Regions from separate parts of the Homo sapiens genome. Here regions 2, 3, 4, 5, 6 and 7 are each linked to region 1. Evidence: promoter capture Hi-C in 16 types of primary human blood cells and fetal thymus (Javierre and others, 2016). All regions are on one chromosome and are shown on one strand. The core of a region is centred on a gene start or on the middle of the fragment in contact, and the rest is flanking DNA. Distances in the headings are between cores, read along the strand shown. Region 1 holds the start of ZBTB20 (zinc finger and BTB domain containing 20). Region 2 overlaps DRD3 (dopamine receptor D3). Region 3 overlaps ZBTB20 (zinc finger and BTB domain containing 20). Region 4 overlaps ZBTB20 (zinc finger and BTB domain containing 20). Region 5 overlaps LSAMP (limbic system associated membrane protein). Region 6 overlaps LSAMP (limbic system associated membrane protein). Region 7 overlaps ZBTB20 (zinc finger and BTB domain containing 20).

Evidence for each region. Contacts are between HindIII fragments. The CHiCAGO score rates a contact against its expected background, and 5 or more counts as called.
Region 2: a contact is called between a fragment that was not itself captured here and the fragment with the promoter of ZBTB20 in region 1, in 1 of 17 cell types (naive CD8 T cells). The highest score is 6.4, in naive CD8 T cells.
Region 3: a fragment that was not itself captured here is called in contact with the fragment with the promoter of ZBTB20 in region 1 in 3 of 17 cell types (M2 macrophages, M0 macrophages and naive CD8 T cells); the score reaches 10.7 in M2 macrophages.
Region 4: a fragment that was not itself captured here is called in contact with the fragment with the promoter of ZBTB20 in region 1 in 1 of 17 cell types (M2 macrophages); the score reaches 5.5 in M2 macrophages.
Region 5: a contact is called between a fragment that was not itself captured here and the fragment with the promoter of ZBTB20 in region 1, in 1 of 17 cell types (fetal thymus). The highest score is 5.4, in fetal thymus.
Region 6: a contact is called between a fragment that was not itself captured here and the fragment with the promoter of ZBTB20 in region 1, in 7 of 17 cell types (naive CD8 T cells, activated CD4 T cells, M2 macrophages and 4 more). The highest score is 7.9, in naive CD8 T cells.
Region 7: a contact is called between a fragment that was not itself captured here and the fragment with the promoter of ZBTB20 in region 1, in 1 of 17 cell types (M2 macrophages). The highest score is 6.4, in M2 macrophages.

Annotation. Positions count from the first base shown.
Region 1 is chr3:115,145,594-115,149,614 of GRCh38, forward strand. ZBTB20 (zinc finger and BTB domain containing 20) reads right to left here and starts at 1,695. Exons shown (of 12, transcript NM_001348800.3): 1 at 1,626-1,695. RefSeq lists enhancers at 371-480, 2,211-2,420 and silencers at 1,161-1,430, 1,741-1,910, 2,471-2,690. The HindIII fragment of the contact is 9,545 bases long and covers 516-4,021 here.
Region 2 is chr3:114,155,564-114,159,584 of GRCh38, forward strand. All of the region lies in intron 3 of DRD3 (dopamine receptor D3), which reads right to left. Among named protein-coding and RNA genes, the nearest start is that of DRD3, 21 kb to the right of the region's middle. The HindIII fragment of the contact is 2,698 bases long and covers 478-3,175 here.
Region 3 is chr3:114,380,064-114,384,084 of GRCh38, forward strand. ZBTB20 (zinc finger and BTB domain containing 20) reads right to left here. Exons shown (of 12, transcript NM_001348800.3): 9 at 714-877; 10 at 154-341. The coding sequence starts at 724. The region is part of intron 7 of ZBTB20-AS1 (ZBTB20 antisense RNA 1); the gene reads left to right. Among named protein-coding and RNA genes, the nearest start is that of ZBTB20-AS1, 30 kb to the left of the region's middle. The HindIII fragment of the contact is 2,530 bases long and covers 734-3,263 here.
Region 4 is chr3:114,401,934-114,405,954 of GRCh38, forward strand. All of the region lies in intron 7 of ZBTB20 (zinc finger and BTB domain containing 20), which reads right to left. Among named protein-coding and RNA genes, the nearest start is that of ZBTB20-AS5, 50 kb to the right of the region's middle. The HindIII fragment of the contact is 1,188 bases long and covers 1,181-2,368 here.
Region 5 is chr3:115,826,487-115,830,507 of GRCh38, forward strand. All of the region lies in intron 6 of LSAMP (limbic system associated membrane protein), which reads right to left. All of the region lies in intron 1 of LOC124906269 (a long non-coding RNA gene), which reads left to right. Among named protein-coding and RNA genes, the nearest start is that of SNORD155, 77 kb to the right of the region's middle. The HindIII fragment of the contact is 759 bases long and covers 1,563-2,321 here.
Region 6 is chr3:115,804,423-115,808,443 of GRCh38, forward strand. LSAMP (limbic system associated membrane protein) reads right to left here. Exons shown (of 7, transcript NM_002338.5): 7 at 1-4,021. The region is part of intron 1 of LOC124906269 (a long non-coding RNA gene); the gene reads left to right. Among named protein-coding and RNA genes, the nearest start is that of SNORD155, 99 kb to the right of the region's middle. The HindIII fragment of the contact is 3,005 bases long and covers 563-3,567 here.
Region 7 is chr3:114,498,768-114,502,788 of GRCh38, forward strand. ZBTB20 (zinc finger and BTB domain containing 20) reads right to left here. Exons shown (of 12, transcript NM_001348800.3): 7 at 1,585-1,624. All of the region lies in intron 1 of ZBTB20-AS5 (ZBTB20 antisense RNA 5), which reads left to right. Among named protein-coding and RNA genes, the nearest start is that of ZBTB20-AS5, 47 kb to the left of the region's middle. The HindIII fragment of the contact is 267 bases long and covers 2,162-2,428 here.

The DNA.
Region 1 (4,021 bases), core at 445-2,944:
TCTATTCCCCCACACCCAAAATATTTTTGATCTGCAGCTGGTTAAATCCACAGATGCAGAACCCAGGCACAGGAAGGGCTGACTGTATGTGACCGGGAGTGGAGGGGGATCTATATAAATATTTCCACAAAATAGCAAAGGGTACTTGGGATTGGGAGCATGAACAGAAATGAAAACAAACCATTATAAATTTAAAGATGACTGGTTATCACTTAAATTTAGTGTCTACAGCTATTTATTTATAAAATGGTAATTGTGTTTTAAAACTTTCAATGGCAACAAGTTACAACAGTAACTTCAGAATAGCGTTCACTTGAAAACATTGGGTGAATGGCCTCTATAATTTTTTTAGCTGAAATGTATACACCGCCACGCAGTGAGGAAACTTGACTTTAGCACCCTTTTGGTATTTTTAATAGAAAAAACAGTGGAGAAGATTTTCACATGTCTAGAAAGGTAACATGTTCAACTTAGGTTTGGCCAATGCTGATTCTGAGGACAGTACTACACCCGCAAGCTTCCAAACTACTTCCTGATTCATTCAGATTTTCATTGGAGAGCTGTCATCCTGCTACTGACCTCATTCAACCCAGTTCGGAGTGAGAGATCAGCGGATTACCGCGCTAGGTACCGTAGCTGTACGCCATATTGTGTTTTTCGCTAATGTTTAGTTTGTGTGTGTGCCTAGCATATGTTTGTGCAAGTGTGTTTATCAATAGAACTTTTAGAAAATCCCTGCCTCCTGCCTCTTCAGCATCCTTAAAAAGGATAACAGCTGGGGGCGGGGGGTGGGGGGAGGACCCAAAAGCCACACAGACAGGAATACATTAAACAGTGTACGAGAGACGGCATTTGTTTTAAACTTTCAAGAACCTTCCAACCATTTTTATATCAGGAATCAAAAAGTGTTAACATGTTTTAATGTTTCCGAAGTGGCCCAAAGAAGAGAAAGAAGGAAAGGTGTGTCTTCCCTTCCCAAGCCCCCTCCTCTCTAGTCGTAGAAGCGAAGCAGGCGGGGGCCGGGAGCTCCGGCGTCTGGAGAGACATCCAGCGGCTGTGGGGCCAGGACACCTCCTGCCCCCCAGTTCTCTGAAGACGCTCCAGAGACCGCGAGAGCCACGGCAAGCGGGGGAGGGCGAGGAGGGAGGGGGCAGAAGACAAGCGGGCGCCTCTAGCAGCTCCTGAGCCCCGGCTAGTCCCCCTCAGCTCCTCTTCTTGGAAGCAGCGGCTCCAGGCGCAGGGAGTAGAGAGAAGAAGGCAGAAGACACGTTTCCAGCTGCGGGACGTCCCGCCCGCCCCGCCACCCTTCGACCCTCCCGCGCCTCCCTCCCACCTCCCCGCCGGGTCGGGCGAGGCAGCCGCCGGGCGCTAAGAAGGGCGCCGGGGGAGGGGGCGCGGGCGGGGCGGGGCGGGGCGGGGCGCGGGGGCGCGCGCGCTCATCCAGCTCAGGGCCCGCTGGCTCGCCGCTCTGTAACTCGCTCCCCCAACCCCACCCCGCTCCCCTCCTTCCCAGTCCCGCCGCCCCCCACTCCAGGCGCCTCGCAGACGCCTCATCCCCCTCGGCACGCACACACTCCTCCCTCTCTCCCGCCCGTCCCACAACAAATTAGAGTTTGTGGCATTACCTCCTCGCGCTCTTTAATCTTCTTTCCTCAACTCCTAAACTTCCCCCCGCCCCTACTTCTTCGGCAGAAGGCCCACATTGGACGCTTCACTCCGCGAACCCTCTATCTCTCCCCGCTATAGGATAGCTCTCACGCCAATCTTGGCTTCAGTGAGCCAATGAGAATGGGACGCCCCTCGTGAGGTTGCCGCCCATAAACAAAATGCACTCTTCCTTCTCCCCTCCGCCCCCCCGTCCCCGCCCCTTTCTTCCTCTTCCCTCATCTCTGTCACCTTCGATTGGGCTAAAAGAGGCCCAATCCGCTATCTCAAACATCCATTGGGACGCGGAAACTTCGCTCAGAGAAGTATTAACAGGCGATTGGTGGACAATCCTTCCACTTCGCCCACCCCCACAACCCCCTCCCCCCGCCGCACCTTCACCCTTTCTGAAAAGGTCAATCGTATCTCGTTGTTCAGTGATCCGGGAGGTGGAAGGCTATTGGTTCAGGGAGCCCGTCAGACCGGACTGGAGTGAGCCATGATTGGTCGACACAGGCGCAATCAGGTTAGGTTGCTTACTCCTCCGCTCCTCCCTCCTTTTCCTCCACGCCCCATCTCCCCCACCCCCTACTGCTTTTACTTTCTACGCATTTCTATTTCCTCCTTTATTTATTTATTTGTGATAAACTTAAATGACCCGGCGACGGAGGCGGTACTCTAGGAGAAGGCTGAGGATGACGAGCGGCGGCCTGGGGCCAATTGCCGAGAGGGCTGCGGGGTGAGGGGCAGCGGCGGTGGCCAGTGAGAGGCAGGTGTCTGGAGCGCGCTGGGCCTGTGGAGCCGGGATGCCCCAGCGGAGGCGGCGGTTACCCGCTGTCTGGCGCGGCGAGCTGCGCCGGGGGAGCCGCGGGAGCGGAGAGGGGGGTGTCGCTGTCTTGGACAGCTGAGGCAGCGGGATGGAGGCTGGATCCCGGGCGGTGGGTGGGAAAGCCGGAGGGAGGGTCTGGCTGGCGGCAGCGCGCAAGGCCGCACCGGGTCACGCTTGATTCCCGCGGAATGGGGCGCAGGTTGCCAGACCGGGTCCCCAGTGCTAGGGCTCAAGGAAGAATTTGTTCATGCAGAAGATTTAGAAAAATACTATGTAAAAGAGTTTGGAGTAAGCCTCCCTTAATATAAATGAGATTTATTATCCTGCCGGAAAAAGCAGATTATGTTTCTTATTACTGAACGCCTGAAGTACCAACGACTCAACCAGAGCCCACAGAATTCAATATCCTGGGTGGTAAAAGGAACAAATAAAGCAACACGGAAAATTAAGTGTGGTTCAAATGCTTCAATAAAATCTTCGTCCTCAACCATTTGTCATTCAACATAGCACTCCCCAGAGCCAAATTCTTACCAAATATTGGTCCAGTACTCAGGCATTGGAGAAAAAAATGAGGCTGAAGTCCAGCAGGAAGCCCAGGATAGATTCCTAAAAAGGATTTCTTACAAGGGCCAAGATGGGAGGGTTGGGGAAATCGCTTTTCACTATACAAAGAAAAAAAAATAATTACTGCCAAACTAAGTTGCACTTTTTTAGGCAGCTGATATAGCAATATTTTGTCACAAAATAAGAGACTTTATCAAAAATACCATGCATGCAAAGAATACACTGTACTTGGGATTTGAAAATGACATTGTTTCTAGGACATGGATTTGATGTATAATTTCCAATAGACTTAAGTCATCTGGATTTTAACCCAGGCTTCTTTGGAACGTACAGCATGCTTTCACATAAGATGCCTGGTTAGAGGTCTTTGACAGAAACTAAGCAAAATAAATTGGCCCTGGTGAAAAAAAAAAAAGTAAGGGCCTTGACCTCATTAATACTATTAAAGCTATCTTGTGAGGATTATATGTATGAGGCTTTGAGAATCCAGAAAATTACTGTGTGTGGTGTCAATTTTGAAGTCTGGGAATTGCTAGTGAGTTTGGAAGCCAAAACACTTTTAAACTTATATATAAATCTTAGCTAAAAAGTGATATTGACTGGGTGCAGCTGCTCACACCTGTAATCCCAACACTTTAGGAGGCCAAGACAGGCGGAACACTTGAGGTCAGGAATTTGAGAGTAGCGTGGCCAACCTGGTGAAACCCCGTCTCTACTAAAAAATACAAAAATTAGCCGGATGTGGTGGCGCACACCCGTAATCCTAGCCACTAGGGAGACTGAGGCAGGAAAAATCGCTGGAACTCGAGGCAGAGCTTGCAGTGAGGCGAGATCGCACCACTGTACTCCAGCCTGGTGACAGAGCAAGACCCTGTCTCACAAAAAAAGAAAAAAATGAAAAAGAAAAAAAGTGATTTAGTAAGAATAATAAGTATTCCATACAGAACAATCAGCAGCGCATGAGAAAAATCAGTAAAATTTAAC
Region 2 (4,021 bases), core at 577-3,076, 990 kb before region 1:
TAAAGAAAGGCGCCCTCTCCTGGCTGGCAAATCGTAGAAAAGCACCCTCTTCTGGCCAACTCTAGGCTTGGAAAAGGGAGTGATAGCTGAATTTCATTTCCACACCCTTGCGCAGGGAACAACCTGCACAACCTCACCCACAGCCCTAAGTGCATAAGAATATAGGTGGGTGGAGTGTATAGGCACACTCTCAAGAGGGAAGAGAGGAGGCTCAGGAACTACGAGGGCTGAGGGGGCTCTCTTTACACAGTTCTCCCTCTTCACAAAGCGAACCCTCTCCCATTCTCTGACGTCCTTTCCGAAAGCCTCCTCCCAAAAGTCAAAAGCCTCCTCCCTTTCCTCCTTGGAGTTCTCTCCCTCCCACTTCCCCTTCCGCCTCTTCTCCTTCTCCCAATAATATCATCCATCCATCTCATAGCTCCAGCAGGTGACCCAAATAAGATCTGCCATTTATTGAGAATTTATCACATTGTGCTAAGCTTTGACACACATTAACTCATTTCATCTTCACAATTCTTAGGTACTGTTGTTATCTTCAATTTCCAACTTCTTAGAGTATTTAAGGAATTTGCCAAAGCCACACCATTAGTACTGGGCGGTGCCAGGATTAGAATTCATGTCTATTTGACTCCAAGTTAGTAATCTTAAACTTTGTGCTAACCTCCCTAAATCTCCAACTACATCCCTGCCTTCTCCCCTGAGTTCCAGATCACATTACTTCCTGGATAGTCCACTTGTTCCTATTATGCCAGATGTTAAAAACCAAACCATTAAAGCACCAAATCGTCTCGACATGGTGATCTCTTCTTGACAGCATCTTTCTCCTGGAATCTTGTGTTCTGTTTGACTCCTTTCTCTTCCTAATCTTTCATATTCAAGAGGTTGGTGTTTACAGACCTTTTGCCGTTTTTTTTTTCAAAATTTCCCCTACTTTTCCTTTCTTGTTTCCTCCTATTTATTTTAGGATCCTATGATCCCTTACCTGAAATTCTGCTGCACTTTCTAACTGGTCCTTCATAGCACTATCAAAATCATTCCCTTAGAAGTAAAGCCTTACTCAAAATCCCTCAGTGCCTCCTTGGCCTATTGAATAAAAGTTAGAATTACCTCCACTGCCTGGCATTCAATGTTTTCCACAATATGGCTTGCCTGTCTTTCTTTCTTTCTTTCTTTCTTTCTTTTTCTTTCTTTCTTTCTTTCTTTCTTTCTTTCTTTCTTTCTTTCTTTCTTTCTTTCTCTTTTCTTTTTCTTTCTTTTTTCTTTCTTTCTTTCCTTTCTTTCTTTTCTTTCTTTCTTCCTTTCTTTCTTTTTCTTTCTCTTTCTTTTCTTCTCTTTTCTTCCTTCCTTCTTTCCTTCCTTCCTTCCTTCTCTTTCTTTCTTTCTTCCTTTCTTCTTTCCTTCCTTCCTTCCTTCTTTCTTTCTTCCTTTCTTTCTCTCTCTCTCTCTCTTTCTTTCTTTCTTTCTTTTTTTCTTTCTCTCCTTTTTTTTTCTTTCTTTCTTGTTGTTTTGAGTCAGACTCTTGCTCTGTTGCCCAGGCTGGAGTGCAATGGTGCAGTCTCAGCTCACTGCAAACTCCACCTCCCGGGTTCAAGCGGTTCTCCAGCCTCTGCCTCCTGAGTAGCTGGAATTACAGGCACCCACCACCATGTCCGGCTAATTTTTGCATTTTTAGTAGAGATGGGTTTTCATCATATTGGCCAGCCTGGTCTCGAACTCCTGACCTCAAACGATCCTCTTGCCTCGGCCTCCCAAATTGCTGGGATTACAGGAGTAAGCCACCGTGCCTGGCCTCAATCCCCCTTTTCAATTTCATCTCTTCCCAGGTTGCCCCATACCCTTCTCATGCTCCAAAGTCTATCACAATGATCCTCTTTTCCATAAAGCCCTTTCACATTCCCACAGTCTGATTCAGTCACCCTTGAACTTCACAATGCTTTCTCTGTCACTATGTTGTGGCATCTCCAGCCTGCTTTTTCTAGAGGTCATAGCACAGGCCCCCTCAATTGGCCCAGTGTTGTGCCCTCTGTAGCAACAGCCTCACATTTCCTTTTACATGCTGAAGTGGGAATTTTGAACAATAACCAAAAAAATGAATATGAACACACTTTGCTCTGGTGATCCTGCAAACCAATCAGCTAATTGGATGATTTTTTATTTATATCACTTGGTTGGCTAGCCAACTGAGAAGAAAGCTAAAGAACATGTCCACAATGCTGAAAATAATACCATTAAAGAGTGTGTTTAAAAAAGAGGGGTAGGCCAGGCACAGTGGCTCACACGTGTAATCCCAGCACTTTGGGAGTTTGAGGCGGGTGGATCACCTGAGGTTGGGAGTTCGAGACCAGCCTGACCAACATGGAGAAACCTCATCTCTACTAAAAATGCAAAATTAGCCAGATGTGGTGGCTCATGCCTGTAATCCCAGCTATTTGGGAGGCTGAGGCAGAAGAATCACTTGAACCCGGGAGGTGGAGGTTACAGTGAGCCAAGATCGTGCCATTGCACTCCAGCCTGGACAACAAAAGTGAAACTCCATCTCAAAAAAAGAAAAAAGAAAAAAAGAGGGGTCCAGATGCAGTAGTATGTGCCAGTAATCCCAGCTACTTGGGAGGCTAAGATGGGAGGGTTGCTTGAGTCCAGGAGTTTGAGACCAGCCTGGACAACATAGCAGGACCTCATCTCTGCAAAAAAGAAAAAAAAAAAAAGGAATATAATTGCATAAGTCTGTAAACATACCAATATAACATTGAATTACACACTTTGAGTGGATGAATTGTGTGGTATGTGAGTTATATCTTCATAAAGCTGTTTTAAAAAGTGAAGAGTTGGGGATTTTAGAATATTTTTAGCTCTAATATCTAAGTCTTTTGTGTAATTTCTAGACATTTAGTACACATTTTCAGGAGTGCATTATTTGCAGACATAGAGGACTGCAGCTGGTTTGCTTTATTATCATTACCCCAAACTCTTCTACAAGACCTAGCTCCTGATCACCTGTGACCTTCCCTGCTGTGCCCATTACAGAGTCTTGAACAAAGAGTATTCAGCTGAATTCAGTGGTCCCTGTTTGAAGGTAGCCAATGTTTATACCATAAAATAACAGTACCTAAGATAATACATAAGATAATAACAGTACCTAAGAATTGTGAAGATGAAATGAGTTAATGTGTGTCAAAGCTTAGCACAATGTGATAAATTCTCAATAAATGGCAGATCTTATTTGGGGTCACCTGTTGGAGCTATGAGGTGGATGGATGATATTACTGGGAGAAGGAGAAGAAGCGGAATGGAAAGTGGGAGGGAGAGAACTCAGAGCAGGAATGGGAGGAGGCTTTTGACTGGCAGCAAGGGCCATAGGCTTGAAAGTGACCTCCTTTCCCCCAGGGCTCTCAGTGAGGCTGGTGATGTCCCAGGGGAGCCAGGCAAATCTCAGGCTCAGGCAGAGGAAAGGGGAAAGAAGAGAGGAAGACAAAAGGAGAGGGGAAGGGAGAAACAGAGGGACCCAGAGCAAGGGTGGTGAGTCCAGGTGCTCTCAGGGATAGAAAGCAATGTTACTCAGGCAGAACACACAGAGAGAGGAGTCAAAATCACAGCAATTCACCCCAGCAACCAAAATGTAATTTTAAAAAACATACTATACTTGCTTCTCTAAGCTCTATGAGAGAAACATATAGATCACAGCCATGCTTTCTAAAATTGCCTTTCTCCCCCACTTCTCTCCTCTCTCCCCCTCAAAAATTATCCCTACACCTGCCCCTCTTTCTTTCTCTTTCTCTCTCCCACCTTCTCTCCATCTCTCCCTTCAACAAAAACAAACAAAACAACAACAGAATTTCCTACCAACCCCAGTCAGCTCACCTTTCCTCCTTCTCCCCCTCCCTAATGGGAAGCTTTCCTTCCTATTAGGAAGAAAAAAAAAACCCCAAAGGATGGTGGAAAAGCAAAACCAGAATCCTCTTCAGGGAGCTGGAGGAGAAGAAAGGCCAGGAAAGCTTATAGGGTCGTTATTTCCCACCTGTCG
Region 3 (4,021 bases), core at 749-3,248, 770 kb before region 1:
TATTGGCTGAATGAAAATGGTGGCACATTACTTTTGGCTGCTTTAGAAGACCAAATGCAAAGAGCTCGCTCTGAAAGTAGAAAAGCCAGAACCCAGGGTAGAAGCACTACTCCAAGCACTGCAAAGACACCATCACCTTAGTGGTGTACTCACAATCAGATGACCCGGTGTGAGCGTGAGAGTTTGTCAGTGAATGTGTTGAGTGGATGAGGGCTGGGTCTGGAGACAAAACAGCTTCAAAGTTCAGGCAGGGAAGGCCCGGCTTGGCGCTGGATCCACCCGGCTGAGTAATCTCATTCTCCTCAGATGCCTTCTGGTTTTCAGCTGTCTTGGGTTTCTTCCTGAAAATAAACAAAGGGCCCTTTGAAGGAACTGACTGCATATTTGGGAAAAGGCATTTTTAGAATCTGTTAAAGATAACTTGATTTTTTTTTTCTGAAGGGGGATGGGAGGGAGTCCAGTATGTCCCTTGTTTTAAAACAAGCTGATTCTTGTTTTTTTTCCCTCCAGTAATGGCCTAACTGGGAACACATGAAAGCATATGGGCCAAGCAAACAGCACCACATTTGGACTCTGTTGGCTGCATAAAAAGACCCTGTCCCAGAACTTTAGACAGCTTGAGCTACGTATGGCTGACATTATCCAAGAAAGCATCCCTCTTCCCCCCTTAGGAGTTTTAACATGGTCTGGAAAAATACTAGTGGAAGTTTTACCGTTCTAGCATTTGTCAGGAAGCTTAGAGACAGGACTCGTGGAGTAATGGGAGGAGCACTGGACTGGGAGTCAGGAGACTTGAGCTACCGTACTAGCTGTGCCTCTAACTTGCTGTGTGGCCTTGGGCACCTCACTTCACCTCTCTGGGCTTCAGTTTCCTCATCTGTAAAATAAAGGGCTTGGATTAGAAGGCCTTAAAGGTTCCTTCCAACTTTAAATTTCTACTCATGGACTACATTAAGGAACATTCAACTTTCCTGCTCTTATTAAGATTTTATTTTAAATAAAATTTCAAATCACAATTTAAATTTGCAGCCTGTACGGATGAGGGGGTAGTGATGGGAGGTTTCTGTTAGAGTAGCAAGTGAAAAGTGAAAAGAAGAGCTTAGATTCTAGTAGCTAAAGAGGGAAGGTGTCATGCAGAGATTTTTCTACTCCAACTCTTTACTCATCCTACGCCTAAGATTTTTGATTTGGTGCATCGTCCTGGAGTTTAGGGTGTGATTGTGTGTTTGGGACATGAGGAAGAGAAGGGTGAAGGGAATTAGAAAGTAATTGTTACTAATTGTTATATGGGGTCAGGAATAGGAAGTAAAACAGCACAGCTATCAGTCAGCTCAGGTCTCCTCTCCCCAGGACAATGCAACTGATATGAAATTAACAAATACTTAGCTTATACTACACAGACCCTAGACCACAGCCAAACTGGTTTATTAGTAATAGTTCCTGAACATTTCTCCAATTCCCTTGGATTTGTGTCTTTTTCTATCATTATGTGGACATGACCAGAAAAAGCATTTATTTTATTTGTAGAAGACTATGTGTGGTACAGAATTTGTTGTAAGTAGATTTGTTTCCATGTTTCCCTTGTTTCTGTGAGCATGGTAATGTACTTGTTATGCAGAATATTTTGTATTTAAATTTGTTGTGCTGGGTAGTTAAATCTGCCCTCGCAGAATATGGTGTTATGATTAGTATGCTGTGTTTTCAGTCCAACAGGTTGTGAAATAAAATCTGTTTCTTCAGAGGGCAGGAGGCAGAGATGGCATGGCAAAGATTAGAATAGAGGTGAGGCTTTCAGACATCTTTTTCAGTATGGAGGAAGCCAATACAAGAGAAGCAACAAATTATAAGACCTTATCAATTGATTTTTGAATGGTGACTATGGGAGTAACCCCCAAATCTTGAGTGTCTACATGGACCCTGAAGGAGCTGGTATTCTGATTTTCAGTTTAAAGATGTAGCCAAGATCAAAGTTGCTAAAGCCCAACTCCTTTATTAAAACCAATGCTTTCTCTAAGGTCCATATCTCTATCACTGTTGTCTACCACCAGGTTGGAAACCTCAGGGTCACTATACACCTTCCTCTGCCTTAAAGCCAATTCATCAGTAAGTTCTTACAGTTCTGCTTCCTTCATATTTTTTCTCACATCTGTGTTTCCATTCCAATTTCACTGCAATCACCTACTGCTTTTTATCTAGCTGATTGTTTACTAACTGGCTCTCCAACCTCTTTCACTCCTCTAGTCCTGTTTCTTTGCATTCACTAAATCTAAGATGACTACATTAGCCTGACACTCAAGGTCAGTTCCGTATCTCTTCTAACTTTTCTCATGTGTCCTGTATATTGGCCATACTGTACCCTCAGATTTCTTGAATATCCTCCAGAACATCCTGGGAATCTACATTCTGGGCTCTACATCTTTGCTCAAGTTTTCTCTTACTTTGAATATCCCATATTTCATCTCTGCCCTGTTGAAATCATACTTATTATCCTTCATACTTATTAAATGGTGTCTTCATCTTATAACTGTCTTGATTCCTCTCTGCCAGGTAGGACTTCACTCCCCACAGTGAATTCCTCCCTAGGTCTTTCTCCGAAATGCCTAAGCTCTTTTTTTTCTTAATCTTATTTCACTCACTCAATTTTATTTCAATAATGGCTATTTATGTGCATATCCCTCTTGTGAGACTGTAAGCTCTCTGAAGGTAAGGAAATGTCTTAGTTATTTTAGTATTCCTAGTGTTCACCTATTCTTTTCTTCTTCCTTCTCTCCTGTCATTCATTCATTTACATATTCATTTTACAAATATTTATGATGTACCCATGATGTGCCAACATGGGCTAAAGAATAAAACAGGACTGGTTCCTTCCCTCCCAGAGTTTACTGCCTTGTCTATACTATTAAGCAATGTAGCTTAGACAAAGCTGTCATTCAATAATTGATTGTGGACAGAATGAAATGAAGCTGAAATTAAAGTGTATTTTAAGAACGGTCATAGTCTGAATCCCAATTAAGTTTCCTACTTTTTATGCAGCAAGGTAGCAAAACTACCTGACTGGCTGCTTTTGCTTTAAGTCTGTGAGGGGTATTTAATAAGAGCAGGACTATTTTGCTCAGTAAGGCTAGGCTGGCCCTCATGATTCATTTAAATATAGGGTCAAAACAGTAATGACATATGTCACCTAGCAGAAAAAAGTGTTTATTTTTGATATTCATAGACAGGGCCTAGGATACTTTCAGATGTGTGCTTCAGAAAATTAAGAAAGCTTTCTTTCAAACATAAGGACATAGCAAAACCACCAATATATTACTCTTTTATTTTTAACACTGCAAAAATTATATTGTTCTTCATATCAATGCCCTTGTTTCCTTCCCTAGATTCGCTCTTGTTTCCTACCTGACATCTTGTATCACACCCTCCTGTTGCCTCAGTGATCACTTTGGGAGAATATTGATAGCACAGAGGCATTGGAGCTACCTCTATAAACAGGAAATGTTAGCAACTCAACCTTTTTGGCTCACCCCCTTATTTGTCTTATATCACTTTACTTACCCTTATACCACTGGGCTGTTTCCCAACTGTCCAGATAATAGAGAACTGCTCACCATCCTCAGAAGCAATTCATGTCCTGTCTCACCCTCTCTAATGGTTCTTCGGACTCCTTTTTCCGGAGCTGAGAAACCCTAAAACATAGCACCCGTTTACGTCTAGACATGCACAGGTGCTGTGAATTGACCCCATTTTTGCAGTTCATAGTTTATTAAGGAGGAAAGAATAAGCCCTGTCATAATTAGTTGAAAATACATTTTGAGGCTGTATAAAAAGAATTATAAACATGGCACATCTGAGGGCAAGTCTTTTCAAGCCTCTGTGGCGATGCACTATTCCCTGGAGCCTTTAGAGGGCAGCAGCACACTGGCTGACTCCAGCGGATTTCAGAGAGGCGAACTCCCGACCAGAACCTTCCTCCTGGTCACCATGCCAAAGGTTGATTTGCCAGGCTCTGGCCTCTCAGTCTCTT
Region 4 (4,021 bases), core at 525-3,024, 740 kb before region 1:
TTGCCCATGCTAGGAAAAATCACTTAAAGGCTGTATTTTTTGAGTGTGCATTCTCAGAGTGAAGTAGCTGTACATATCATGTAAATTGGACTGGGGAAGGACTTCGCAGAAAATTACAGATGGCAATCACATCCTGCCAGTCATTTGGTCTAGAACCAGAGAAGAAAAACTTTCTTTTCTCTTTTGATTGTTCAGTAACATGAAACAGTGGACTAGACTAGTTCAAACCAAAGAATGTTTTAGGGCACACCCACTTTGAGGACCAGCACCTGGCTATGCTACATGCTCTTCAATTGTTTAGGCATATAAAAAGGAGTGATGAGATGGTTATATGTCAAAATGGCTGTTCTCCCTCCAAACAGGATTTGATTGGCTTATTTGCTTTTGGAGTACTCTCCAAATCCATAAACAAAGGAGTATTGAATTGAAGAAGCAAACAGGAGAAAGAAAAAGGCTAAAAAGGAAAAGAGAGAAGAAGAGGAAGGAAAAATACTAATTTCTCAGTATTCCTATCTGCAAATCTGGCTGGATTTGATAACAAAACTCCTACTACTGTTCTCTAATGGTCTTTGCTGCATGCCATATGGACATGGCTTCTAAAGGGGATGAATTCTAGGTTTTCCTCACAAATATCCAAGCACAGAACAGCAGGGATCTTGACGACTAAATCATCCTAACTCACGACGAGGATCACAGAGGTGGAACATGGCTGTTGGGACTAGATTCTTCTGCTTATTTCATGTGCTTTGTGAATTAAATTGTTCGTAGAGTTGGAAAGCTGGTGGACTAAATGTTTTAATAAAAACAGCCATGAGACACAACAGTTTTCTTCACAAAGGCTTTCCCCCCTAGCTACTGTGAATATATTGCTGAATGGTTCTGACTTCTGGAAGGGCAGGAGGTTTGCCTCTTCTCTTTGCCTCAAAAACCAGGCTTATTCTATGCATCTGGGAGATGATTATACTTACCCGAAATTTCAGGATACTATGTCAGACAGTTCCTTCACAGTGGTGTGTCTGGCACCTAAGCAAGGACTTGGTGGGCCAGACACATTTAAAATGTAAAAGTGGATGATTATATTATTTTGCATTGTAACAATGAGAGTATTTCTGGATTGTAGCTGACGTGTAGATCATCATAACCATATGTGGCACAACAAACCACACAACATTGCATCAGAAGCTTGTAGTTAATATTTTTAAATGATTGATTATTTTGAAATAGAGAAATGGTGGATGCTTTTTTCGACCTCTTTAAATAACCACTTATTGAATGTCTATTGTCAGTGATGGACTCTTTCTTCACAGAAGGGAGCTGGGCTATGCCAGACTCTCACCATGTTCTTTCTCCTCTAACACTGAACAAAATATCAGTAAAACACCAAGTACAGCTGGTTTTGAACCTAGTAAGAAATCAGTCTGTAGTAATGGGCCATATTGGTAATAATTGGAACTGGTGATATCGATAGCAGTGGGAATAACTGACTTACAAAGGCACAGCAGTTCAGGAACGTCTCAGGGACTCAGAGTGGGTAAATGCGTAAATCTGCTCTCACCTATTTATATGCTCCAACAAATATCTGGAACTCTAGAAACTTCAAGAGTCTAATATGATCAGGCCACGTTTATAGGTATTATAGGATTCATATAAAATAAGGAGGCATACATGTTGATCTAGTGAGCGTCTCCATATTTGTACAACACTCAGGATATGTCTGAGAACACATTTTAATTTTTAGAATCAGCTATAGAATCTGGCAGTTATTATAAAGCAAACTTCACTTCAAAAAAATTAACTGAGAAGCCAGATGATAATCCAGATATACAAAACAACATTGGTGGGATAAGTCAAATAATTCTCTAAAATGATTATGGAGAAACTGAAGAAATGAAGGGCACCTATTTATCATATGTGGGTCCCCAGCCACGTTTGTAATCTGTTGTGTGACCTTGGGCAAGTCATGAAACTTCTCTCGAGTCTCATTTTTCTCATATATAATGTGGGAGTGTTAGATTAGATGGTTTTTAAGATTCTTTCCAGTAATAACATTTGATGATTCTAAAGTAAGAAGAGATGAAAGAGTAATTCCTCTTTCCTCTTGTTTTGGTAAATACTTGCTTTCTCCTGCTCCGTGCCTATGCAGTTTGCAGTGAGTATTAGGTTTCTGGACTCAAGAAGTCAAATAGTAAATACTGAAGCTATTTTTCCTTGTACACATGGACAAATCATAGGGGAATAATCCTTCCTTTCTTTGTATATCAGTGTCTCTTCTCAAATCAGACTTATGCCTAAGGTAATCACGATCATTCTGGTACTAATAAAGATTTTTCCTCATCCTTCCCACAAGGCCCTCACCCATGCTCATGAAAGCTTATGTGATTGGGTTATTTCTATATTTATGTCTTGGCTATTTTTTCTCTTTCAACTTGTTTATGAAGTCCCTGGTAAGCATAAAGCTGCAAAAACAAAAACAAACAAATAAAACAAAACAGCTCTGTTTGAATAATTTACTTCAGTTGAAGCAGTATAAGAAAACATCCTAACGCCGAGGGGAAGAAAACAGGTCATAAAAATACCCTGGTATCTTAGAAAAGACTAAATAAAAGCTTATATCAATAATAGTTTCATATGTTATTGTCTTTCATTTTCAAAGAGAATGGTACATATTGGCTTTATAGTCTGGTGTACAGACGTGGCTATTTTTCCCCATAGCTCTCAGGTCAGTGCATCCTCAAAGCCAAGAAGGCCCAGAGCCTGCCGAGCTAGCTTTACATAAACAAAGGAGCTACACAGAAAACCCAATACCCGGAGCTTATATCATATCCTGACTAGGCACTCTGGTTACCCATGACTCGCTCTTTTCCATCTGTGCCCTGATTCTCTGCTGGTTTAATTCCCTTCACCTAGAATGCCCTCAGTTTGCCTCCTTTTACTGCTCAGAATTCCCTCTGGACACAACTCACGACTAGCATAAGCCCCATTTCCAAGAAGCAGCTTAGTTTGACCCAACTTAGTTTGACCCAGCGAAAATTTTCATGGATAGCAAGTGAAAATTAGTCCTTGTGATAACTGGAGTCACTGAAACCAGGTATCTAGGAAGCACTCAGAGAATACCAGAGAAAAACTTTCAAGGGTTGCAGTGTCCTCATAGGAGGAAAAAAAAAATCCTAGCTTTAAGAACAAGCCCAATATAGAAGCTGTGGTATGTAAGAGAAAAGTTGTAGCCATGTACGGGAGGAATTGTGTTAAAACAGTCTGACTTTTTTTTTCCAATAAAGGAGAAGAGATCCTCTGTTTCTTAAAAGAAGTTTAGTCATTGGATATAGCAACATACAGTGTCATAAAGTTTAATTGCATTAATTATGAAGCTAAAATGTCTACATTTTAGTAGAGAGAACATGGGGCATAGCTAAATGGCGAAGACATAGGAATGTGTATACAATTTGAGTTTCACTTCCTCCAAATCTCTCAGTTAGAGGATCCCTCTCAGTCTGACGGTCTTATCATCAACAGCTTCACAAACTCTGACAACACCTGGCTGGGTTTAAGGGATGGGCCATGATATATCTTGAGAGTAAAAGATGGAATGAAACTCAGAAATGCTGAATGCTTTTATATATGTATACAATTTTATTTATGTGTATATTTATATATCAATATATACAAACATATATATTTGTATGATGTTTGGCAACCTCACTCATGGTATTCCTGTGAAGTAGGCATGTGGTAAACATAATTAGCCCATTAAACAGATGGTAGGGCTCTGGCATATCTCACCATATTCTAAAATGGTGGAGCTGTAAGCAGGGACTAAAGAGAGTGTAGTTTGATACATGGCTAACTGCAAATCTCTGTGAATTGCTACTTTCCTAAAGACAATCTGGGTAGGCTGCATTTGGCTGAGAACTGGGGATAGTTTAGGAAGCTTTAAAAATATACAAAGGGACAACTTTTCACATTCATTCAGATATAGTATCTTCATTTTTACTTACTAGAGGCATTTTTTTTTAAAAAACAG
Region 5 (4,021 bases), core at 692-3,191, 680 kb after region 1:
TCCCCAAACACCTACCAGTTATCTTCACATGGACTTAAAGTTTACTGTGGTTGCTTAGTTCATTAAGTACTTCTCCATTTGGTCTGTAAACCCTCTTAGTGCAGAGGCTGTACCTGCTTCATTCTCCTTTGTCATCCCCAAAACCCGGCTCAGAGCAAATACTAAGATATTTCTTTGAGTAAATGAATGGTGTCGTCAAGATATTGTGCATGTCAAATTAACTTAACCTGTGCCAAAAAATGAGTTTTTAACTGCCTATCAAGAATGTAACCTCTTTCTTGTGTTCCTAATGATTAGAAATCATAATGAAAAGAAAACGTGACCTCTAAAAGAAACTCTACAAAGCAAAGGCAAGAGCAAGTGGAGAGTACATCTAAATACAGAAAAAAAATCATACTATTTACGAGTTAGAATGGGAAGGTTGATCTCCCAACGGAAGACCAGCCTCCAATTAATGGGATCATTCCGTCTTTTTTTTTTTTTTTTTTTTAAGCACTGCTGCACTTAACAGCTGTCAGCGATAAACTTACCTGTGTTCTGGAACTTCAAGGGAGAAAAATAAAACAAATTTCCCAAGTTACTCTAGCTTGCAATTCAACAGAGAAGTGCAAGTTACTGCTTGGTTTCATTTTGTTTGCTTTGTTTTGTTTCTAGCTATTTCTGCTCTCCAAATATCCCCAGCTTCCAACTCATACAAAACCCACACGTATAGTTGAAAAACCACTGTAGGATGGCCAAGCAAGTTTCCAACATAAAACATGGCTGGGAATGCTTGCTGCTGTGTGAGCTAAGGAGCATGGGATGGTAAACAGAATGGACACTTGGCCAAGGCACGGTTATTTTCTACTGCTTTTTTTTTTTTTTTTCTACAGGATGCTACTATTGCCTCCAAATGTCTTTTTAGGCTTTTTAGGCAGTTAAAAAGGTCATACTGAGATTCCGAGGTTTAGAAGGTGGGTGCTTAAGTCAGAATCTTTATTGCGAGTATGGGGCAGATAAAAAGTAGAATGAACTATTAGCTGTGATTGATAGTAAAGAGACTATGTCAGTGGTAATGTCTGGGTGCTAATCATAGGTATGTGTTACAGAGATGTGGGAAGCATTTTCTTTTACAATCAGCACAGTGATAAGCGAAACTATAGAGTAAACTATGGCAGTGCTTGGCTCCCCAGGGTCCAATTAGGAAGCATGATAAATGACTTGTAAGGTCTCTTCCCCACTGATCTGTGGTGGATATAAGCTGACATTCTCCGTGGAGTCCTAGTGAGTAGTCTGCCTACTCCCATCATACATCTCAGTACATAGGAACACCTTAAATTGGAATTCCAAACTCATTATGCCATGCTGTGTTCTTACTTGGCAGGTGTGTTTCTTCACAGCAGTATACAAGGGGAGGTGTAAGGTGGGATCTCTCATACTGATTTTTTCCCCATCAAGGTGCTTTTTTAGTTTAATACCTACAAATAACTTGTGATGATGAAAGAATATCATGAGGCTGCAATGACTGTATAAGGGAAATTGTTAACTAAGCTTAATTTGTATCTTGCCTCTTCAGAAGTCAAAGCTTTCTCCAGATAGGTGGGATAAGGGCTTGGTGGTGCTTGCATGGCTAGTAACCAGTGTTTAGAAGTGAATGTCAATACTATCAAAACCTTTTCTTTGGTTTTGTCTGAAAGATGTCAAAGAGAACATGCATACGTAATGCCTGGTAAATATGGTGGAAAATGTAGAGAAAGGAGCCAAGGAACAGGTTAAAATTAAGGTTCATACTTTTTGGGTTATCATAAGACATTTGTCAGGGGCTGGTACTATCTCGATGATTTAATACTTGGGAGAGTTTTTTTTGCTGTTGTTTTTTGTTTGTTTGTTTATTTGTTTCCTCTATGTACTACCACTTTTTAAAAAGGACTCTCACTCCATACAGTCTCTGAACCCAGAACTAAGTTCCCAAAGGAAGGACTTCCTTCCTGTCTAAACACAACAATGTTTCTCACAGTCGACTGCTATGCCCATGTTAACTGGCACATGAGGCAGACTCGAGAGCAAGCAGTGCTGCCGTGCACTCTAAAGACCAGAGGAGCCTGTGTCAGTTTTCTGTCCATCAAGATCCTGGTCTTCTCACCCTTTGGGGCAGCATGCCAACATTTTCTGCTGCAAAATTTCATTGAGCTCCTCTTAGGCAGCTTTATTCCTTTTAATTAAAAAGACAAGACTGCCAATTACTTAAACCTAATCCCCAAATGTAACTGTTACTTTGAAAATTTTTTTTTCTATAAAGCTCATAGAAGAGCAATATTTCTATCAAATTAAAATTTAGTGGAAGCTTGGATTTTTGTTAAAAAAAATATTCATTTTCAAATCCCTGCTGGCTCTAGACATCTAAATAGCACAGCAAGGCATTAAGGACAGGGAGCTCACCAGGAAAGGCTGACTGGTGCAGGCAGATCCAGATTCGAAAACCAGGAAGAGGCATTAGAAAGGAGTTCTAGGCACTAGAAAGGACTAAACATTCTCCTATCTTTAAATTGACTCTGTAGGATTTTTAGTCATTTAGCTTGAAGCTAAATGTAAATTTTGAGAGAAATAACACTTCCAAGCCCTTGTTGAACATTTAAATAATGGTGTGAATAAATTTTGGATTTATTCTTGCTAGCAACTTTTAGCAGGGGAGAGAACAACAGTTTAGGAAACAGAGTAGAAGGAAGAGTAAAGAGGTGGGGGAGATAAGACACAGAAATGGGGAGAAAACCTCCCTATTACACTGTGTCAAAATCATTGGATTGATGAGTGAACCATTGATTCCACATGAAATATTGGTACAATTATCCCGCTTGAGTCTCTAACCACTAAAGAAAATCAGAAGGAAATCAGACTATTGTTCCCATAAACGAGCCAGGGAATTAGGTATGAAGGTCAACTCAATAATTTTCATGTGTATTAATCAGAGCCAATCATTTTGTTGTAAATTGGTGCTGACATGTCTGCCTAAATTCTATTTGTAGTAACAAAGTCCTTGTTTCTGCTAACCAGTGGGAAGGAGAGACATATTTAAAAAGGGAAATCTTTCCTAGGACATACTTTATACCCTTGACCAGCAAAAAGGGCAGGTCCTTTAGGCTGATGGGTTGGCAGTCATGTGGTACTGTGTATGAAGGGCATCCGCTGAAAGTGTGTGAGTGTATATGTGTGTGCCACACAACCAGGAACTGTGTGCAATTTTGCAGCTCTTCTTAAATGTAATATTATGATATTGGTAAGAAAATAATGAAAAATATTTTTTATTTGGCCTTAGGATGCTTCTACATTAAAACTTCAGCAGTGTGGGGATTTCAGAAATCTTTAGAATCCATAATACATCAAAATATAATAAGAATACATTGAACTTATATCTAGCTGATGTCCATGCAACATGATACCAGTATACCTGCAAATATCAGTGCTTTTAAAAATTATAAGACACATGTGTATCTGAATATGATTATTTTAAATTCAATATGCCTTCTAGGAACTTGAAGCTCTCTTTTGTATATTATTTAAAATACCACTTTGAGCTTGTAGGCATGAAAAATATAATTTCTTTCCCATTTCACAGTTGGAAAAACTGAATTACAGGAACAATGCAAGTAATTATCCATGATTAATAGAGGTGTATATGTAAATCAGCCTGAATAAGTGTGTGAAATTAGATGTACCGATGCCAGATAGCTCTGCTCAAGTTTTTAAAAAATGAATGCTTTCATATAAATCTGTGTGAGTTGGGCATACATCTCACTGTGCTAAGCATATTTGAAAATAGATTTTGTAAAAATGTACAGACGTTAAAGTAACTGAGTGTTATAAGCATTGCAATACATAAAACAAATTAGATGAACATTTAAAATCCATTGAAAAGATGCATATCTAATGAACATGAATGTATACACAAGGGTGATTATTAATATACTATAGATTTGTATATGTGCCTGGGTGCAATAAGGGGTAGGTTGAAATGTAGGTGTCCTTTGATCATTAAAAAGTGTGG
Region 6 (4,021 bases), core at 815-3,314, 660 kb after region 1:
AACTTGGGGTTAGAACCCAATTCTCCTGACTCCCAATTCAATACACCTTCTACCTCACTTTAAAGTTGTCAGTTTATCTTAGATGATGAGGAAGCAGTACCAAGAAGACACTTGGGGGTTGATACAACAGGCACATGAGCCCTTAAAACTCCTTCCTGTTTTTTTTCTTTTTTTTTCTCTTAGGTAGATTAGTGCATTTAAAGCCTGAAGTTAATTTGACCTAAAATTTTTATAAGTCTTTGCAGAAAGTTCACTTGTTTCCTGAAATCATCTCCTTGATAATTTTTTATGTAACAGTTGTTCATATTGTAGGAATGATATATATGTCATCCTGTTACACGTGTCAGGCACTTCAAAAAGACTCCAAGAGAACATGCCTGAGAAAGATAACTCCCAATTAAAAATGATTCAGTCCCTCACTTGCAATATTCAGGATAAATGTGTGGAAACATTAGGCTACCAGATAAATAAAAGGTAGTTATTTCCTAGGGTGACTCAGCAAGATATTTCTCGAGGATATAACATTTTTTATATTGCACAATTTCTTAGAATCCAGATGGCAAGCTTTCCCACTGCTTTTGTTGAATGGAAAATAAAAACTGAGTAATATTTTGCTCATCAAGGTTTAGGTCACTTCCTTGGAGCTATTTAAATAAGACATCTTAGATGGTGAGAAAGGAGTAAAAAGAAGATAGCTGGGAGTGGATACAGCAGACATATAGCCCTTAAAACCTTTCCCTCTATTTCCCTTGCTTTGGGGTCGGGTGAGACAACTACAGCAACAGTTGGGACAATCTCCACTTAGATCCTGAAAGACCAAAGAGGTGACTTGAGCAGGATATAAACCTTGAACTGTTCCTGTGGGTCTGCTTCCTTTGGCTAAGGCAACCTCATATTTGGAGCTTTAGTCGTAATTCTTCCGATTCTGAACTGTGAAACGTTTCAGTTTTTATTTATTTTTATTTGATTTTTTTTTCCTTAAGAATCATAGTAAACCTTAGCAGTAGTTGGGCACTGCATGAAAAATGAAGTTTACATAGTTTATATTATGTACATAAACTAGTGATTTACATTGATTTACACATGATTGGTGCCTAATTTATTAATCAGCACGCAGCATGTAAATGTGCTCAAAAGAAATCAAGGTTTAAAATAAGTTTTCCATAATATTCATAAACATTTTCGCTGGTGTAAATGTTAAACCTAAACCCAACGTTAACACCAGCTTCCTTGCCAAGAGAAAAGTGAGATGTACATGCTGGGTGAAAACAAATTCTTTCCTAAATTTTGGTTGGCGACATTTGAACAGCATAGCTACATGCAAATGAGAATAGTTTACTTCTTTTCTGCTAGTATGCACATAAATGTAAACTCCATTTTGCATTTAGTGAGATGTTTACAGATATTATGCCAACCATGATGGAAAATTTACATCACTGAGGCAAATGCAGTCTTTGGAGAAGAAATATTCTAAACATTTAAGCAAGGAGGAGGCTTCCTAAACTGCATTTTTGTTTCTTATCTCACCATTTTTGTGGTGTGTTTCACATTTGTCTTCAAAATATTAATAGTTTATGTAGGTAAGATATAGCACTGTACTTACATTTCTCTTAAAAAATGATATTGGTAACCAAGACTAAATGCAGGCTAAAAGTGTATGAGGATGAAAAGAAAAATGAGGACATGGTTAATCCCATTAAACATAGTCTATAAGCAAATTTCTTTTCGCCAAATAATTACAAAACGGAAAAAGTGGGGCTCTATGTCTTTCTACGTGAGCATAGATTTTCTTTCTAAACAACCAAATTCAGTACTTTTCTTCCTTTTAAGATCAAAACATTATTCTTAATTTGTCTTATAATACATACATTATTGTAAATATAGCATCTATAAAGATAAAAAATACACACACATATATATTATTGTTTTCCACAAATAATTCGAGCCCTGCAAAGAACAAAATGAAAAATTCAGGGAGAATAGCCAATAGAAACAGTGAAACCACAACCAACTCAGGGATGGAATCTGCGACTCTGGAGGATTCAAGAAGCTCACAACTTGGTAAAGTAATAACTCAAACAATTTCATGCTGAGGAGTTTAGCTTTTGTGTGCAAAGGAGGTAAGTCCATTTTTGGAGGAGAAACAGATTTTTGTTTGGTCCTCCAAGAACGTGAAAATCACGAGTACTTTTACAAGGTCTCTATAAGTAGCCCCAGTAGTCTGACTATGTAGTAAAAAAATGCCCATGGCAAGCGAGAAGTCTGTCTGACTTGGAAGAGAAGGCAAAGGTCAATGGGGCAGTCCTTCCTGAGAGAAAACCCATCTGCTTTTCTATAAGCCTTAGTTCTTTTAAGACATGGGGATTTCATGTCTCGAAACAAACAAGACTTTTTATCCAGCAAGGCAAAACCTTTGCTCAACAATTGCACAGAGCATAATTACAATTCTGCAGTTGTAAAGCCCTGGATAGTTCTCATTCTTCAGGAAGCACCCTGGGTCAAAGTCATTTCTGTTTTTGTTAACTGAAAGTTGGGTCTAAGGATTTCCTTTTACGAATGGTGGAGTTTTACTTTGTATACAAAGGATATTAAATATATTAGCCACTCAGATTAATTGATGAATTTCACTCCTCTCAGTATATTATTTCCAACCAGTTGGTGCTTTTCAGTGCGGGGTTTCAAACTTTGATTACCAAGGGACAAGATTCTTGAAGGAATTTATTCCAATATGATTAACTAAATTCCAAGAAGTCTTATGTTGAGATTCAATGATTTCTTGGTGTCAGTCCTCTGGCCCTACCTTTCCCTGACTTTTCTCTAAACTATATTTTCCTCCATTGTTCACACTGCTTAGGGAACACTTTCAATCCTATGAAATTTCTGGGGACAATGTTTTCTCTGAAACAGGAACCAGAAGCAAATTTTTAAAATTTCAAGATCCTGCTAGAGACACAGGCAAACACCACATTTAAATATATGTTTAATTATGTTTAATATATGGTCCATTATATTAAAACTGAGGGAACAAACGGTGCTGACATGGCAGACATTTATTTCAATGGAGAAGTTCCTCCCATGAAACCAAGACCTTGTCCTCATGATAAAGTGGAGACAATAAGAAAGCCAGGTATATAATTAAGGCCTGTGACATGCCATGGGGATCTGTTCCTGAAGGTAATACTAACATCCAACTTCTAACAACATCCAACTTAACTCCTACTTTTCTCTTCCTGTATATCTTTAAATTAGCATGCGCTTTTCTAAAGCCACACACTTAAGTGTGTGACTGCCTCTTCAATTTTTGGGGAATGCTTATTATTAAAGATGATACCCTTTATTCTTGAACTAAGAAGACCAAACTGTTAAGAGAAATACCTGATTGTCAATAAATTGATGCTGCATAGGAATATGGCTCACCTTCCCTATATTTTACTAGCTACCTTCTTGGATGAGAATTTGTTTTCTCTCCTATGTCAGAATCTGCTATAAACACTCTTAACCATCCCCAAGCTGAATTTTTCCTTGTATCAAGTCTAAACTGCAAAATCATGAAAGAAGGCTGTGATAAGCTTCTAAAACAAACAATAAAATCCCTTAGAAGAAATTGAAGAAATTAACAATGCTACTTAGATCTTTCTCCCTCCTGCCTTCCTTTCCTTTCTCCTTCCTTCCTTCCTTCCTTCCTTCCTCCCTCCCTCCCTCCCTCCCTCCCTCCCTCCCTCCCTCCCCCCCTTCCCCGTCCCCCCCTCCCTGCCTTCCTTCCTTCCTTCCTTCCTTCTTTCCTTTCTTTTTTTCCAGTTACAAAGTTTCTCATTTTATAACATGGAACAGCTATTTACAAGGTTCCAACTTAATGACATACCATATTTGGCTCTGCAAGATTACATTCAAATATAATCTCAAAATAATTCTCTGTCCTCTCATGAACTGAACCACTTTCAGTGCTTACTACTGTGTAAGTGAGAGCAAGGGTTGGTTTTCTGACAAAGACATCTATATGCAGAGAGCCAGCTCTCTCGGC
Region 7 (4,021 bases), core at 1,045-3,544, 650 kb before region 1:
CATTTTCCTATGAGCCAGAGACAGCCTTTCAACTACACTTTTTATCTCAAAAGTCTCCCCCTTGATTCCTAATTGGTGACACAGGTCCCCTGTACTGCTTGTGTCTGAGGCTCGCCCTATAGCACTGACGTCACAATAGCTGAGCCGTGCGGGCAGGAGTGCACTGTGCTGACTCATCCCGGTGATGTGAGGATTAATGCCTTGTCTAACACAGAGCTATTATGTGAACTGTTTTTACACAAAAGAACTGTAACAAAAATGATTTGCCAGTCAGAGGACTAGAAATATGCAGTGCTAGGTAACTGAGGGGAGGGCTGTGCAGATATAAAGTGGTAACCATAAGCATGCATATTGACATCCTCCAAAGCATTTACAGACCCACTCTATCAACACTGAAATAGAGAATAACAAGACTTGTCAGGGACAGGTAGGACCCACCCCTGTTGTATAAATGCATTACACACAGCTCCAGTCTTTGGGGAGTTTAATCAATCTCCTTTCTCTGTCAAATAAACTGTCACGTTACACTTTAGCCTTAGCATCCTTTGGAGGATTCTGCCTCCCTAAATATATTTGCCACTATCTTCTAGGAATGTTAGTGGAAGGCACGCATAAACAAAATAGCCATGGGAACCTCCATTCTGTGCAAATGATTATAATACAAGAAATACCTTGGAGTGAAGAGTCAGTGAAGCAAGATATAATGTTGTGAATAAGGAACAGAGCTCACCAGAGAGTGAGAAGCAGCCAGAGGATACCGATAATTATTTATCACATTAGGTGACTATCACTACCTGTAGGATCTTTTGGGTGGTGTCTCTTATAAGTGACTTTGATTATTTGGGTTCATTGGCCTAGAATCTTTTTCAAGCAGTTCAAAATAAAATTTATTTAAACCCATTCAGTGCAGCCTGGTTTGAATTTTAAATAATGAACGTTCTCTTTTTTTTCATATAAAATCGTGTTTTTTTTTCCCCCCGAATACCTTTCCATCTTTTCTAAAAAAGAGTGGTACCTTTATAAACCTTCTGGCACACGTGAATCTGGGATTTCTTTTTTTCCCCTGTAGACTTCATAATTTTGCACAAAAGTTTAGTCTATTTATTTTACAGTCTTGTACTTCTTAGTAAAGGGATATTAGAAATTTTGTCAATAAATGAAAGCTCTGATCTAGAAGTTAAAATTAAAAACTATTGGACCTAGGGATGGGTACATAACTGAAGAATACATAATTGCCCAATGATTGACAGGGGAGCAAAAGCCCAACTGTTGCTGGTATTTGGCTGAATAATGTAAGCTATACTTTAAAAGAGCAGTGACTTTTGCAAACAGCAGCTGCAGCCAAGTAAAGGGCAGCCTTTATAGAAGTACAGTATCTGGGCCACTGGTATTTTCTGCACCCTCATGGATAGCAACTTAGTATTACCACCAACAGCATACACTCCAAACGCAAAAGAAACTAATACACACTACAGAAGCACTAGAAACCACAACAAAGTCAACTAGGAAATATGCCAGTGAAAACCACAATTTCCTAAATCTGACACTTTTTTTTTTAAAGGTAAAGAAATCACTTTTACTTACGTAAAGAGAAGGGGCAGGTCACAGACTGATGGTCAAAGATCTGAAAATCAAAGAAAAAATAAGGAATTAAAAGCAAACCGATATATGATGCAAAACCAATATATAAAAGCAAAATGATACAGTGGGAAGAAAGAAAGCAAATCTAGGCATAGATGGGACTGGTTGTTCCTAAAGGAGCCTATTTTGTCACTTCTAGCCTCAAAATAAAGGAGACCCAGCTTCATAAAAACTTTCTAAAGGTATGACCCCCTGCTATGATGACCAAGACAGTACTTCCCAGCACAAGGAGTGCAAAGACCTTTCTTTGTTCATTTCATTCTAATCTGTATCATATAGGATTTGGTAGAGCTATGTTACCATTTAACAAAATAGCCACTAGCCACATTTGTCTATTTAAATTTAAATTATTTAACATTTAATAAAAAGCTAAACATTTAGTTCCTCAGTCTTGCCAGCTTCATTTCAAGTGCTCAATACCCACATGTGGCTGGTGACTGCCTTACTGGATAGCACAGATAGAAAATGTTTCTATTATTGTAGAAACTTCTATTGGGCAGCACTGACTAGAATAGGTAAAAGCTTTACTATACAGTACATGACCAATTTTAGCTAATTTTGACAAAGATGAGTCAAACCCTGATAAACTTTGTCTCTTTTAAGGTATATTTAGTATGTTTAATGTCCAGAAGTTCCTCTGAACAAATTCAATACATTCGTGTGTAGCTAAGAACTCAGTCCTAAGTTTGCCCCGGACTTGCCTTCTAAAACTGCCTCTACCCCTTCTCACCAGCCTAGAATGTCCCCTCTATGGTGGAAAATAATCTGATAAAGTGATTTTAAACAAAGCTTCTCTCCCACCAAACACAACTCTGTTTGGTGATGAAAATTTCAGATGAAATGATGAAAATTTTAGATTTTGGAGAAGCTGACCCTAACAGTGTTCTTGTTCTATGTTTAAAATCTGATATTTCACTCTTTAAATTACAAGCCAGGCTAGGCGCGGTGGCTCACGCCTGTAAATCCCAGCACTTTGGGAGGCCAAGGTGGGTGGATCACTTGAGGTCAGGAGTTCGAGACCAGCCTGGCCAAAATGGTGGAACCCTGTTTCTACTAAAACTACAAAAATTAGCCAGGCATGGTGGCGGGCGCCTGTAATCCCAGCTACTTGGGAGGCCGAGGCAGGAGAATTGCTTGAACCTGGGAGGCGGAGGTTGCAGTGAGCCCACATCACGCCACTGCACTCCAGCCTGGGTGACAAGAGCAAAACTCCGTCAAAAAAAAAAAAATCACAGGCCAAAAAAAAAAAAAACTATTATAGGACTGGTCTGCCCATCATTGTGCTTTGTTTTTTTTTCTTTCTTTTTTTTTTTTTTTTGAGATGAACTCTCCCTCTGTCACCCAGGCTGGAGTGCAGTGGCACGATCTTGGCTCACTGCAACCTCTGCCTCCTGAGTTTAAGCGATTCTCCTGCTTCAGCCTCCTGAGTAGCTGGGACTACAGGCACGCACCACCACACCCAGCTAATTTTTGTAGTTTTAGTAGAAATGGGGTTTGCCATATTGGCCAGGCTGGTCTCAAACTCCTGAACTCAGGTGATCCACCCACCTTGGCCTCCCAAAGTGCTGGAATTACAAGTGTGAGCCACCGTGCCCAGACCCATCAGTGTTTTGATAGCTTCTCTTAGAAGGATAAAACTGAAGTAGGAGGAGAGCCATGACAAATTAATAAACCAAAAAAAGATACTGAGAAAACAAAGCAGGTCCCCCTACCTCTAGCCCACTTAAATATATCAAGAATTTAATACAGGGTGATTCAATCTTGCCTCTCTGACACCATGATTTTAACAACTTCACATAAGGCCTCCAGAAATATGCAAAACAAACTTCACTAAAGGAGATCAAGTAGAAGGACCTGATTAAGTATCTTTGCATTGAAAAGGCTAAAGCAGAAAACCAGCAATTAAAGACATCACCCTTCCTGGAAAGTTTCTGGGACAACTGCACTATTGTAGAGATTTCTTCAAAGAAATGATTTCCCTTTGTGGTCAATGTGAAACCTTGCTCAAGTACATGCAGGTGTACTTGATGCAGGATGGTGACAAGACGAGTTAAGATGAAAATCTCCAGCCTGGATTATTATAATGCTAATACAAGAGAGGCTGGAGATCTCCAATGCTTTCAAATTGTTTCACAAAATTCATGAGTTTAATGAAAATTTTAGGCAAGAGAATTAGATTATGTATGATTCATTGAAAGCACATACAAATTTGAAATATATATATAACACTGACTAGTCTTCAAAGATTTTAAAGCTCTAAGTTTTGCTATATTCTAGTCTTCTCTGCAAGCCAGGATATTAGACTATGGCACAGGGGCATATTTTCTTACCATTTTCCTCCCTCCCTCTCTCCTTTCTTCCTTCCCTCCCTCCCTCCCTC